Regions from separate parts of the Homo sapiens genome. Here region 1 is linked to region 2. Evidence: promoter capture Hi-C in 16 types of primary human blood cells and fetal thymus (Javierre and others, 2016). All regions are on one chromosome and are shown on one strand. Each heading gives the region's core, a stretch centred on a gene start or on the middle of the fragment in contact. The rest is flanking DNA. Distances are from core to core; before and after follow the strand shown.

Region 1 (5,725 bases), core at 1,132-3,631, about 21 Mb after region 2:
TGCAAGCTCTTCATCAGAGATGTGATTGCAAATATTTTCATAGTGTAGAATCTTTTAAATTTTGGTGAAGTCTAATTTACAAATTTCTTCTTTTATGGATCATGCTTTTGGTGTGCTAAGAAATCTTTGTCTAACCCAAGATCACAAAGATTTTCTTTCCTCTAGAAGTTTTATAGGAGTTGTAGCCCCATAATCCATTTTGAGTGAATTGTTGTACATGGTGCAAAGATACACACTGAAACTCACTTTTTGGCACATGTATATCCAGTCTGTTTTAAAGTCTCTCCTTTTCAACTGTTTTTTCTCCACTGAATTACCTTTGGACCTTTGTTAAAAATCAGCTGTCTACATATGGTATGGGTCTATTTATGGATTCTCTGTTCCATTAATCTGTCTATTTTTGTGCCAATACCACAAGGTTGACAGGTCTTGAGATGAAGTAATGTTATCTCTCCAACTTTGTTATTTTTCAAAGCTGATTTGGCTATTGTAAGTCCTTTGCATTTTCATTTGAATTTTTCCCCCATTTGAATTTTAGAATCAGTTTGTCAACTTCTAAAAGGGAAAAGCTCTGGGATTTTTTTTTTTTTTTTTTTTTTTTTTTTTTTTTTTTTTTTTTTTGAGACGGAGTCTTGCTCTGTCGCCCAGGCTGGAGTGCATTGGTGCAGTCTCGGCTCACTGCAAGCTCCTCCTCCCGGGTTCACGCCATTCTCCTGCCTCAGCCTCCCAAGTAGCAGGGACCACAGGTGCCTGCCATGACGCCTGGCTAATTTTCTTGTATTTTTAGTAGACACAGGGTTTGATTGTGTTAGCCAGGATGGTCTCGATCTCCTGACCTTGTGATCCGCCTGCCTCGGCCTCCCAAAGTGCTGGGATTACAGGCGTGAGCCACCGCGCCCAGCCAGCTCTGGGATTTTTAAATGTACTTTATTTCAGAGATGGGGTCTCTGTTGTCTAGGCTGGTCTCCAACTCCTTGCCTCTAAGCGATTCTCCTGCCTCAGCCCCAACAAGAACTGAGATTAGACATGAGCCACCATGCCTGACTAGGGATTTTGATTGGGATCATGTTGAGTCTATAGGTCAATCTTGGAAGAACTGAGATCTCAACAATATTGAGTCTTCTTGACTCATGAATTTGGAGTAGCTCTCCATTTGTTAGTTTTCTTTAATTTCTCTCGGCAATATTGTTGGGTTTTTTTTTTTTTTTGAGACAGAGTCTTGCTCTATTACCCAGGCTGGAGTGCAATGGCGCAATCTCGGCTAACTGCAACCTCCGCCTCCCGGGTTCAAGCAATTCTCCTGCCTCAGCCTCCCAAGTAGCTGGGATTACAAGCACCCGCCACCACGTCCAGCTAATTTGTTTTGTGTTTTTAATAGAGATGGGGTTTCGCCATATTGGCCAGCCTGGACCTCAGGTGATCCACCCGCCTGGGCCTCCCAAAGTGCCAGGATTACAGACGTGAGCCACCACGCCTGGCTGCAATATTTTTTAGTTTTCGGTGCACATCTTGCATATCTTTTGTCAGATTTATTTTTCAGTATTTAATATTTTGATGTTACTATACATGTCATGACTCTTTGCATTTAAAATTTTGATTGTTACTGATTTTGTTTTAAATCTTTTTTCTGTTGAAGTATAAACTTGGTAAAGTGTACAAATCTTTTAAAAATTTTCTCTCTTTTTTTTAAACTTCTCTTTGGGAAAGCTTTATTGTGAAAAAGACACAAATAAGAGATTTTGTTAGATTCAGTTTGAAATTATCAAGTGTAATACACTTAAGGATGGCTTCAATGTTAGACTGGGATGGTTTTCTCTTTTAAATGAAAAGGATCCCTTTCCTAGGAAAATGTTAGGTAACACAGTATAAGTGACTATTTTCACTCTTCAATTTGAAGATCAATTATCCTTCAATAAATGCCCACTTAATCCAGCATGGTTACTCCTCCCCTTCTTTAAATTACCAAAGCTAAGTACATTGGTATATTTAGTTGTGTCATTTGCACATGAAAACTTTTTTTTTTAACTTTTTTTTTTTTTTTGCAATAAGTCTCGCTCTTGTCCTCCAGGCTTGAGTGCAATGGCTCAATCTCGGCTCACTGCAACCTCTGCTTCCCGGATTCAAACGATTCTCCTGCCTCTGCCTCCCAAGTAGCTGGGATTAAGGTGCCTGCCACCATGCCCGGCTAATTTTTGTATTTTTTAGTAGAGATGAGGTTTCACCAAGTTGGCCAGGCTGGTCTCGAACTCCTGACCTCAGGTGATCTGCCCGCCTCGGCCTCCCAAAGCGCTGGGATTACAGGCGTGAGCCACTGTGCCCGGCTGAAAACATTTATTAATAACTTCTTAAGCATTTGTCTGTCCTTCCTCCCAAGATTTCAATAAACTGATGCCAAGAATTTATGGAGAAAATTATAAAAACTTTACTAAAAGACATACGAATAACTGAATGAAACAAGCAATTATGTTCATGGACTGGAAGAGGCAATACAAGGGAAATATATCATTTCTCCTCAAACGAATCTGCAAAATCAAAGTGAACAATTTGTTGTTGTTGTTGAGACTCACACTGTTACGTAGGCTGGAGTGCAGTAACACGATAAGAGTCTCAACCTCCTGGGCTCAAGCGATCCTCCTGCCTCAGCCTCCCAAGTAGCTGAGGCACGCGCCACCATGCTTGGCTAATGTTTTTTATTTATTTATTTTTTGTAGAGACGAGGTCTCACCATCTTGCCCAGGCTGGTCTTGAACTCCTGGGCTCAAGTGATTTTTCTGCCTTGGCTTCCCAAAGTGTTGGGATTACAGGCGTGAGCCACTGCACCCAGCCTGCACAAATCTTGTGCATAACTTGATAAAATTTTATGTTTGAATACACTGCTGTGATTACCAGCCAGATCAAGATATGTAACATTTCCCGCATCCGAGATTTCTTCATGCTCCTGTTCCCCACCCTCCCTGACAACCAGGAGGTTCCCTTATGATACCTCTCATCTAAGTGGAATCAATCATGATGTACTCCGTCTGGCTTTTTTTTTTTTTTACCACAACTTATGTATATAAGCTTCATCCATATCGTTGTGTGTAGTAGTCGTTCATTCCTATTGCTATGTAATATTTTTTTCTCCTATTTAAGGACATTTAGATTATTTCCAGTTTTTGCTACCTTGGGTAATGCTGCAATGAATATTCTTCTACATGATCATAAATAATAAATACTCTTGGGTATATGCCCAGTGGTAGAATTATTGGGTTATGGTCTGTGTATAACTAGCTTTAGTAGATAGTGTCTGATATAGTTTGGATATGTGTCCCCACCCAAATCACATGTCAAATTGCAATCCCCAATGTCGGAGGTGGGGCCTGGTGGGAGGTAACTGGATCATAGGGGTGGGTTTCTCATGAATGGTTAAGTACCACCTCTCTTGGTACTGTCCTTGCAACAGTGAATTCTTGTGAGATCTGGTTGTTTAAAAATGTGTAGCACCTACCCCCACCCTACTTGCTCCTGCCATGTAAGATGGCTGCTCTACCTTTGCCTTGTGCGGTGATTGGAAGCTTCCTGAGGCCTCTGCAAAAGTAGAAACTGCTATGCTTCTCGTACAGTCTGCAAAACCATGAGTGAATTAAACATTTTTTCTTTATAAATTACCTAGTCTCATTTATAGCAATGCAAGAACAGACATACGGTACCACAGTTTTCCAAAATGATTAAACTCTCACCAACAATATATGAAAGATACAGTTGCTACATATCCTTGTCAGTGCTTGGTATTGGAAGTCCTTTTAATTTAAGCCATTCTGGTGGTAGTTTTGGTATCTCATTGATTTCAATGTCCATAATATATAGAACTTCTTTTCATGTTGGGCCCATAGGGCGGTCTTGGAATTCACCCTTTCAGAGGCCATACATATATGTGTATTGGTGCATGGCAGAGGCTGGTGTACACACATTAGTGTATGGCTGAGCCATAACCGGAGCATACCTGAGACTAACCCTATGGTCTAAGAAGAACTTACGTTTGGAGTCCTGGGCTAAGGAATCCAGGAGCAGCCAACCCAGAGATTCACTCCTTATCTATGAAGGACATCCACATCCCTGGCCCGTATCTTACGCTGTACAGATCAAGGCCCTTTGGGGTTAAATGGAGGTTGCTAGAAGGAGAGTGCTAAGTGAAAATGCTATATAGACTACGTGCTTTTTACAAATGGTAGCAGTTCTCCAGGTCAGCCCTCCACCACCGGACCACCCTTGTATGTAAATCCTGAATAAACCTTGTCTCCTTCACTGACTCTGCCTCTCTTCTTACAGTGCCATCCCAACTGGAGTCAGTGGGGTCCAGAAGGACAATTGGCCATTTAGATAACATTTGAAAACTAACCAAGGTAATTCACAGTAACATTAAAAAATACAAATGAACATTTCAATAAAGGCAGAAAAAGCAGTTGATATTCAATGCTTTCCTCCTGATGTTATGACCAAGACAAGGAAGTCCATTATCACTGTTTTTATTCAATAGTGGAAACACTAGCCAGCAACAAAAGGCAAAAATAAATAAAAATAAAAGGTATAAAGGTTACAGAGAAGTTAAACCATCTTTATTCGTGGATTGCAAGATTTTGATCACAGAAATTCCGAAAGAATCTACAGAGTATTACAAATAACAAGGGAACTTAGCAAGATGCTTGCATATAAGGTCAGTATGTTAAAATCAATATTGTTTATTCTTACGAGTAGAATATAAAAAAGTCAAAATGCCATTTAACATTGTATACAAAACACTAAATACTCAAGAATAAATCTAATGAAAGATATATATGATCTCTATACTGCAATCTATCCAAGCACAGCTGCATTAAAATATAGATATATGTGCAATCTACAAAATATTGCCAGGAGAAATTAAAGACCGCTTAAATAAATGGTGGGGGAAGAATGATATTCATGGATTGAAGGACTTGTTGTTAAGATACTAGTTTTCCCAAACAGATCTATAGATTCAATGCGAGCCCAATAAAAAATCCCCCCCCTTTTTAACAAGCTAATTCCAAAATTCACCTAGAAATACAAAGGCCGTAGAATAAGCCAAAACAATCTTGGGAGAATAAGTTACAGGACTTAAAGATTTATTATAAAACTACATTAAATTAACATAGTTTGGTACTGGTATAAAGTTAGACAAAGACTACTCCCTCCCGCTCCTCAATCTGCCCCCATCCCTAGAACGTGCTGGCAGCTTTCTCCATCCGATCTGCAAGGGTTAAAGGGCGCTGAGGAAGGGCTGACCGACTGGGGTGGGAAACAAAGCGGCACTGAGATAACTTCAGGCCACCTTCCTCCCCTCAGTACCTTCGGATGAAAGGTTTCCCTTCTTGGTCTGGGAAGCCCACTAAGAAGAAAGCCTGGGCTGTGGCGTTCTGGGGAAGTGAATAGTACGGCCGCCGGGCGCGTCGCCCCAGGAACCAGAAGGCTTTTTGCCGCTATTAGTGCAGAATGACTTCCGGCAAGTCCCAGTCGTTTAGAATCCCCAGCCCAAAGATCGCGGGGATCCACGCGTCATCCGGGCCTCTGCTCCCGGAAGAGACCACGCAGCCGCTAAAGACGTAATGGAGGCGAAAGGGCTTGGCTAGCTGTGGCAGCCATGATAAAAACTAGGGAAAATGGGAGCTCGAAGTAGCTTCCGTTATTAACAGACATACAAACGCCCCTAACCGCCACACGTTCCTTA
Region 2 (6,016 bases), core at 182-2,681:
GAGCTTGGGACATTTGAAAAAAATTAATAGGTACAGTATTTTCCTTGAGATGAAATCATTTGTTTTCATCAATGCACATGCAGATATGTTTGTATATATTCTCGTCCGAAAATATCCCTTCACGAAACTTGCTTTTTAAAATGTTGCCCTTTGCCCACCCTATGCTCCTATAGAATATTTAGTTCAGTGACGACATCCATCCTCTTTTGGCGTCCTAGCACAAAAGTATGCAATTTTTATTCTCTTTTAAATAAACTGTGCAAAATTAATTTTAAAAATACGGTTTACAATTCCTCATGAATGGCAAAGAGCAAAAAAAAAGACGTTTACATCTTTCGACAATGATCCCGGGCATTAAGGCCAACAATGTTAGCAACGAAGAGACTGGGTAAAAAGAGGTGGGCTAATCTTTCATAGGACTGCTTCCGTGGTCGCTAACAACAATCCGCCTGCTCACTGGACAAGCAGCGACACAAGCTCTGGAAGCTTCCAGTTCATTTCGAGATTCACAATGCGGAAGAAAAAGGCCGGCAGCCCCGCTCCGCGGTGCGCAAAGATATGCGCGAAGGGAGGAGGACAAGCTGGAGGCGGCTCAGCCAGCTCAGAGAGGCCGGGTGGGGATACGGGGGCGGCCGCGGAAGGCGCAGGCTGCAGCCTGCCAAGAAAAGGGAGCGAAGTTGCGGGCTTTGCCGCAGCCCGACCCCCAGTAGGTTTTGAAAACCCCCAATAGGAAGCCCGCACAAGGTGACGACCCTTAGAGTCTCGACTCTGGGACTCCTCTCACCCCCGTGAATCCCTGAGACAATCCCTTCTCCAATTTGTGATGGCAAGCCCCCCATCCCTCCTCTGGCCGGGTCGCTGGTCCCTAGTTCCACGGAGGGGTGCGCCGCTGCCCAAACGCCTCCGTTTGCCGCGGTGATCCGTACAGCCAGCCCGCGATCTTGGGTCCCCACACTAAGGGCCCAGAACCTCCTCCCATCCACCCTCGCAGACTCCCACTTACGGGGTGCACCGGTCGCTGAACTCATTGGCGATGGTCTCGATGCCCCCGGCCCGGGCTACCGCGATGTAGCAGCTCTGCGAGCCCACGTCCAACCCCACCACCGACATGGCCGGCTCGCGGTCCGCCTCCGCCTCGGGTCTCGGTCTGCGTCCTCCGGCCCCCTGCCTGCTTCTCCTGCCGCCGCTTTCTGCCCTGGCCGCGTTCTGCTCCGGCCCGCGGGGTCTGGCCGTTCCTCTGACACTCAGAAGGACACACAGACAGCCGCGGCCTGTCAGGAGCCTCCTACTCCCCCGGGGACAGCGGCGGCTGGCTGATAAGAAACCCTGGGAGAAAGCGGGGCTCAGCCTCCGCAGGTCGCTCCGCACCTCGGGTTGCCTGCCTCACTCTGCCGCGGCTCGCACACCGGCGCCGGCGCTGAACTACCGACCCAAAAGGGGAGGTCCCACTTCCTCAGCCTTATGTATCGCACTGATCAGAACTTTCCAGAATCTGCGGCATTTACTCACCGGCGCCTCCACCGGCCCCTCCACGTGCCACTTCCGCTTCCTTCTTCTCGAGCCTTCTGGAAAGATTCTACCCAATGGGCAGCCGGTCCCCGGAGAACGGCCGCCGTTGCCATGGCAGCGACAGGGCCGCTCCCGTGCCATTGGCTCAAACCTGCCTCCGCCCACTCCCGCCCTAGCCACAGGCGTTTTGCTGCCCTAATAAAACAGGCAACGAAGAATGACTCCAAAACTCGGAATAGTCACAATTTACTACCGGGAGGTGGTGTCCGATCCTTAACGCTAAAGGGAGGCTGGGCGGGCGGAGACAGACCCCATTTTTGCAGAGACCCCAGACACCGGGATGGTGGGGAGGCCGGCCAGCTGTCCGGAGAGCATGTTGGGAATCGTAGTCCCGCTGGGAGAAGTGTGCGCCTTGCATGCTGGGATGTGTAGTCCTGGCCGCAGTGCTTGCTGGGACCCGGCTTTGTCTTCTGGGACTCGCGAGAGAGGCTGGGTAGGGTTTTGTCTGGCGCTTTTGCGCGGGTTCCCTGGCAATAAGCGTCATTTTGTTCGTTTGTTTTGTATTCACTTCTATTATTGTCTGGATTACCCCGACAACTGGTGCGTTACGACTTAGGAGAAGGAACACCAGTTCAAACCGCTTATAATAAAAGCAAAGGGGTTGTGTTAAGTGTTCTTGTATTCATCAGGCAGCAGGATGATCTCTTGTGGAGTAAAATGTCAGGTGTTTTTTTTTTTAAGAAATCGATTTTTAGTTGTGACGTCATTTGGCAGGCTGTCCACGGTATCACTTTCTGCTTATTTTTAAAAGGTCTGATTTAAGCCGACGCTGTTCTACCCTGCCACTCCTAGCCATAAATTGGTACTGTGTGTAAGTTTTGCTTTTTGTTTGATCTGAAGCAGCTTTTGTTTCTTTCCCTCAGAAGCGATGTCCCCGTTAACTTTTGTTCAGTAAAGAGACAGTGTAAGAAAAGGTGGAACTGTGTTGCTGATAACTTATCAGGTCTTTTATACCCTTTTGTGTCTTTTTAAGTTTGCTTCTGATCCCTGAGTTTACCTTATGTCAGGCATGTGGAAGTATAAGCACAGTTCAAATATGTTATTGGATAAGCGTGTAATTGAATAAGGAGTTGTAACCTAAAGTTAGAAAAATCTAACTCATAAAGAGTATGGGAATTCCTCCTTGTCTATCAAAACAAGTTGGTTAAGTCAGAGGCAAGACGAAAGGCCCAGGTTTACATTACATGTAAATTGTATGTGCTTTTGCTAGTTTTCCTGCCACTTAGGTGGCTTACTTAACATGCTTCAGTTAACTCACCTTTAAAATGGGAGCAATAATAGTTATCACGGGGTTGTTGTGTTCTTACATTTGGACATATAGTTAGCTGTAACTATAAGTTATTTTTGTTATGCATCCCAAAAACTTGGTTTCTGTCCCCACCCCCCGCCCACCAACTTTTTCTTACATATCAAAACCTTATAATAAAATCCATGGAGACATAGCAATTTTGAACAGAAAGAACCTTTGAGATTATTTGGTCTGCTTCCCACATTTTAACTGCCGTACGAAGAGGAGACATGAACAGTTCTCAGTCTTTGGAGCCAGACAGATTTGGGTCAGGTTCAAATCCTTGGCACTCTACTAAGATGTTTTATATAAAGTACAGCTTGTAAGGGCACCAGGCCTCCTGGAGTCAGACATCATGGGCTTGAATCCTAGCTATTCTTATTTGTGAGCTGTGTGATGTTGCGATAATTACTAAGCCTTTCTGTATTCCATCTCATGGTGTTTATGTAATGATGGAAACTATATGTAAAGCACTAAACATATATAAACATAAACATATAAAGTCTGTCATCTTTGTCAAATTCCTCTTTGCCCTCTGTTTCCTCGACTGTAAAATGGAAGTAATACCTATTTTTGCTAGGATTTTGGAAGGATTAGATATAAATAAAACATGGTATGGTGGTATTTGATAAATTGTAGTAATAGAAGTAATATCATTCAGTGAAAGTCAGTACAAACTTTAATCTTGTACTGCTGTGGATGTGTTGTGTAGTCATGGTGTAGCCCCCTTTTATTTAATCGATTTGCCTTAATTATTCAGCACAACAGGTAAGTGATAAGAGGTTGTAAAATCTACCATATTTATTATCTAATTGAAATTCTTAGCTGGGCCAGGCATGGCGGCTCACATCTGTAATCCCAGCACTTTGGGAGGCCAAGGCAGGAGGATCACCTGAGCCCAGGAGTTTGAGGCTGCAGTGAACTATGATCACTCCACTGCACTGCAGCCTGGGCAACAGAACAAGAGTCTGTCTCTAAAAATAAAAAAATAATTCCTAGCTAGGTGCAGTGGCTCATGCCTCTAGTACCAGCTACATGGGAGGCTGAGGCATGTGGGTTGCTTCAGCCCAGGAGTTGAAGTCCTGCCCAGGCAATATAGCAAGACTATTAAAAAAATTCACTTTTAACACTTTATTATATTTTATTACTTTATATGTTTATATATTTTATTACATGTAGAATTTATCACACTTACTGTTGTAATGTCAGAAATTTTAAAATGAGACTTGGACCAAATAATGACAATCCCTACAAATCCTTGTTATGTAATTATGAATCCAATTATTAGGTTTCATTCCATATTTGTTTTAGAGAATAAGAAGGACCTCAAAATTGGAAGCAGAAACAGACCACTTCCAAAGAACAATAAAACAAAAATGCAAAATTAAGAAAAGCCCAAACAAAAATGCCATTCAAAGAGATAATATGCAGTAGATATAAAAAACTATGCCAGGCTTCCTTGAAAGGAGGAAGAGATGGGCAAAGGAGGGGATATGCAGATAGAGTAATATACATGAAAGTGCATATGACTTTGAATTTCTGGTATCAACCAGTATGGCAGTCTTCTCTATAACCAGCATAATGCCAGGGTCTGGAGGGTTACAGAAGTAGTATAAAACTTGTTCTAAATCAAGATGTGTTTTGTCACTTCTCTGCAATGCTGGGGCATCATGAATACTCAATTATCTGAAATCTTGTCCGTTTGAACCTTTTTCAATATTTGCTTACCAAAAGATTTTTGTTTTCTTCTTATATATTAACCTGAAAATGTATCTTTTAAACCTTAATTGGTTCTGCTAAAACCTATTTTGTCCTTATTTTAAGTTATAATAGAATGATCATCTAAAAATAGGAATGCATGGGGAAATCACGCAGGGAGCAGAGACTTATAAAAAGGTACACCTAGAAATAAGGTAAGTATGTTTTGTCTGGTAGGACATGGAAAAGATATGTAAAATGATGTTTCTTTTAGCCTAAAAAGGATCATATTTTGTAATAAATGTGGCAGACAAAAACTCAATGTGTAGGAAAATGTTCATGTCTGCCCCCAAACTCACTGTGAGCCACTTTGCCACTGGAACACCGTGCTCAGGCACACTGGCCCCCTACCCCACATCAAGGTGTTCCTTTATTCCCCTGCCTAGAAAATTCTTCCTCAGGCTCCTGGCTAGGCCAGTTCCTCATCCTTCAAGGCTCTATTGAATTCTTCACCATCTGTAGAGAAGGTTTCTGAATGCCCACCCAGTAAGCACATTACCCTTCCCCAAAGTACACCCAGTTCTTGTCCAGTTAAGGAGAAGCTGGTGCCAGCCCGAATGCGGAGGGTGGTCACTGTTTGGCTTAGGCCAATCAGCACATCCTATTCCCCTTGGCCACAGTCGTTGGTTCCAGGATGGTCAGGTGACCTAGGCAGCCCAATCAGGGTGACTTTCAGGGCTATGGTTTAGAATGCCTGGGTATGAGGGTATTTCTCTGCCCCTTTCCATCCCTTTCCTTCCACTCCCTCCATCTTCTTCTTCCTCCAGGCGCTGTTGTGTGAGGTTATGAGGCCCAGAACCATTACAACAACCTTACTATCATCCTGAAAAGGAAATGACACATGGAAGTGGATAGAACTAAGAAAATTAAGTTGGAGCCTAGGGCTGAAGTCAGTCTTGAGACCCACCCTACCTCTAGATTTAAGTTATGCCAGCCATACATTTCCTCACCACTTAAGCCAACTTGAATTGGGGTTTCTGTTACTTGCTACCCAAAGCAAGTAACCTCCTCAGGAAGGTCTTTCATGACCATATTACCTAAAGCACCTCCTGGTTCACTCTCTGTTGTTATCCACTGATTTCCTTCACAACATGTACCACACTCTATACTACAACATATAGCTGCAGTGATCTTGGGGTGTGTGTGTGTGTGTGTGTGTGTGTGTGTGTTAGGTACTTCCCTTCTTTGATTGTCTGACCCAGAGGGCAGTGATTGTTTTTCTTCTTTATAGTGCATTATAGATGCTCAATCAATATTTGTTGAATAGTTGAATGAAAAAACAAACTTATTGGGAAATGCTTTTCTCTAATGCAGAGTTTCTCAGCCTTGGCACTGTTGACATTTTGGGCTGGATAGTCATCGTGTGGGCTGTCCTGCACCCTGAATAATTAACTGCATCCA

What was found. Contacts are between HindIII fragments. The CHiCAGO score rates a contact against its expected background, and 5 or more counts as called.
Region 1: a fragment that was not itself captured here is called in contact with the fragment with the promoter of HSPH1 in region 2 in 1 of 17 cell types (total CD8 T cells); the score reaches 5.0 in total CD8 T cells.

The regions. Positions count from the first base shown.
Region 1 is chr13:52,646,816-52,652,540 of GRCh38, forward strand. SUGT1-DT (SUGT1 divergent transcript) reads right to left here and starts at 5,492. Exons shown (of 1, transcript NR_170300.1): 1 at 4,490-5,492. RefSeq lists an enhancer at 5,322-5,661. The HindIII fragment of the contact is 1,353 bases long and covers 1,706-3,058 here.
Region 2 is chr13:31,160,473-31,166,488 of GRCh38, forward strand. It overlaps HSPH1 (heat shock protein family H (Hsp110) member 1), which reads right to left and starts at 1,432. Exons shown (of 18, transcript NM_006644.4): 1 at 1,004-1,432. The coding sequence starts at 1,110. It overlaps LOC105370148 (a long non-coding RNA gene), which reads left to right and starts at 2,188. Exons shown (of 3, transcript XR_941825.3): 1 at 2,188-3,625; 2 at 4,682-4,770. RefSeq lists enhancers at 526-1,071, 1,072-1,617, 1,229-1,308, 1,439-1,558, 1,789-2,058. The HindIII fragment of the contact is 12,297 bases long and covers 485-6,016 here.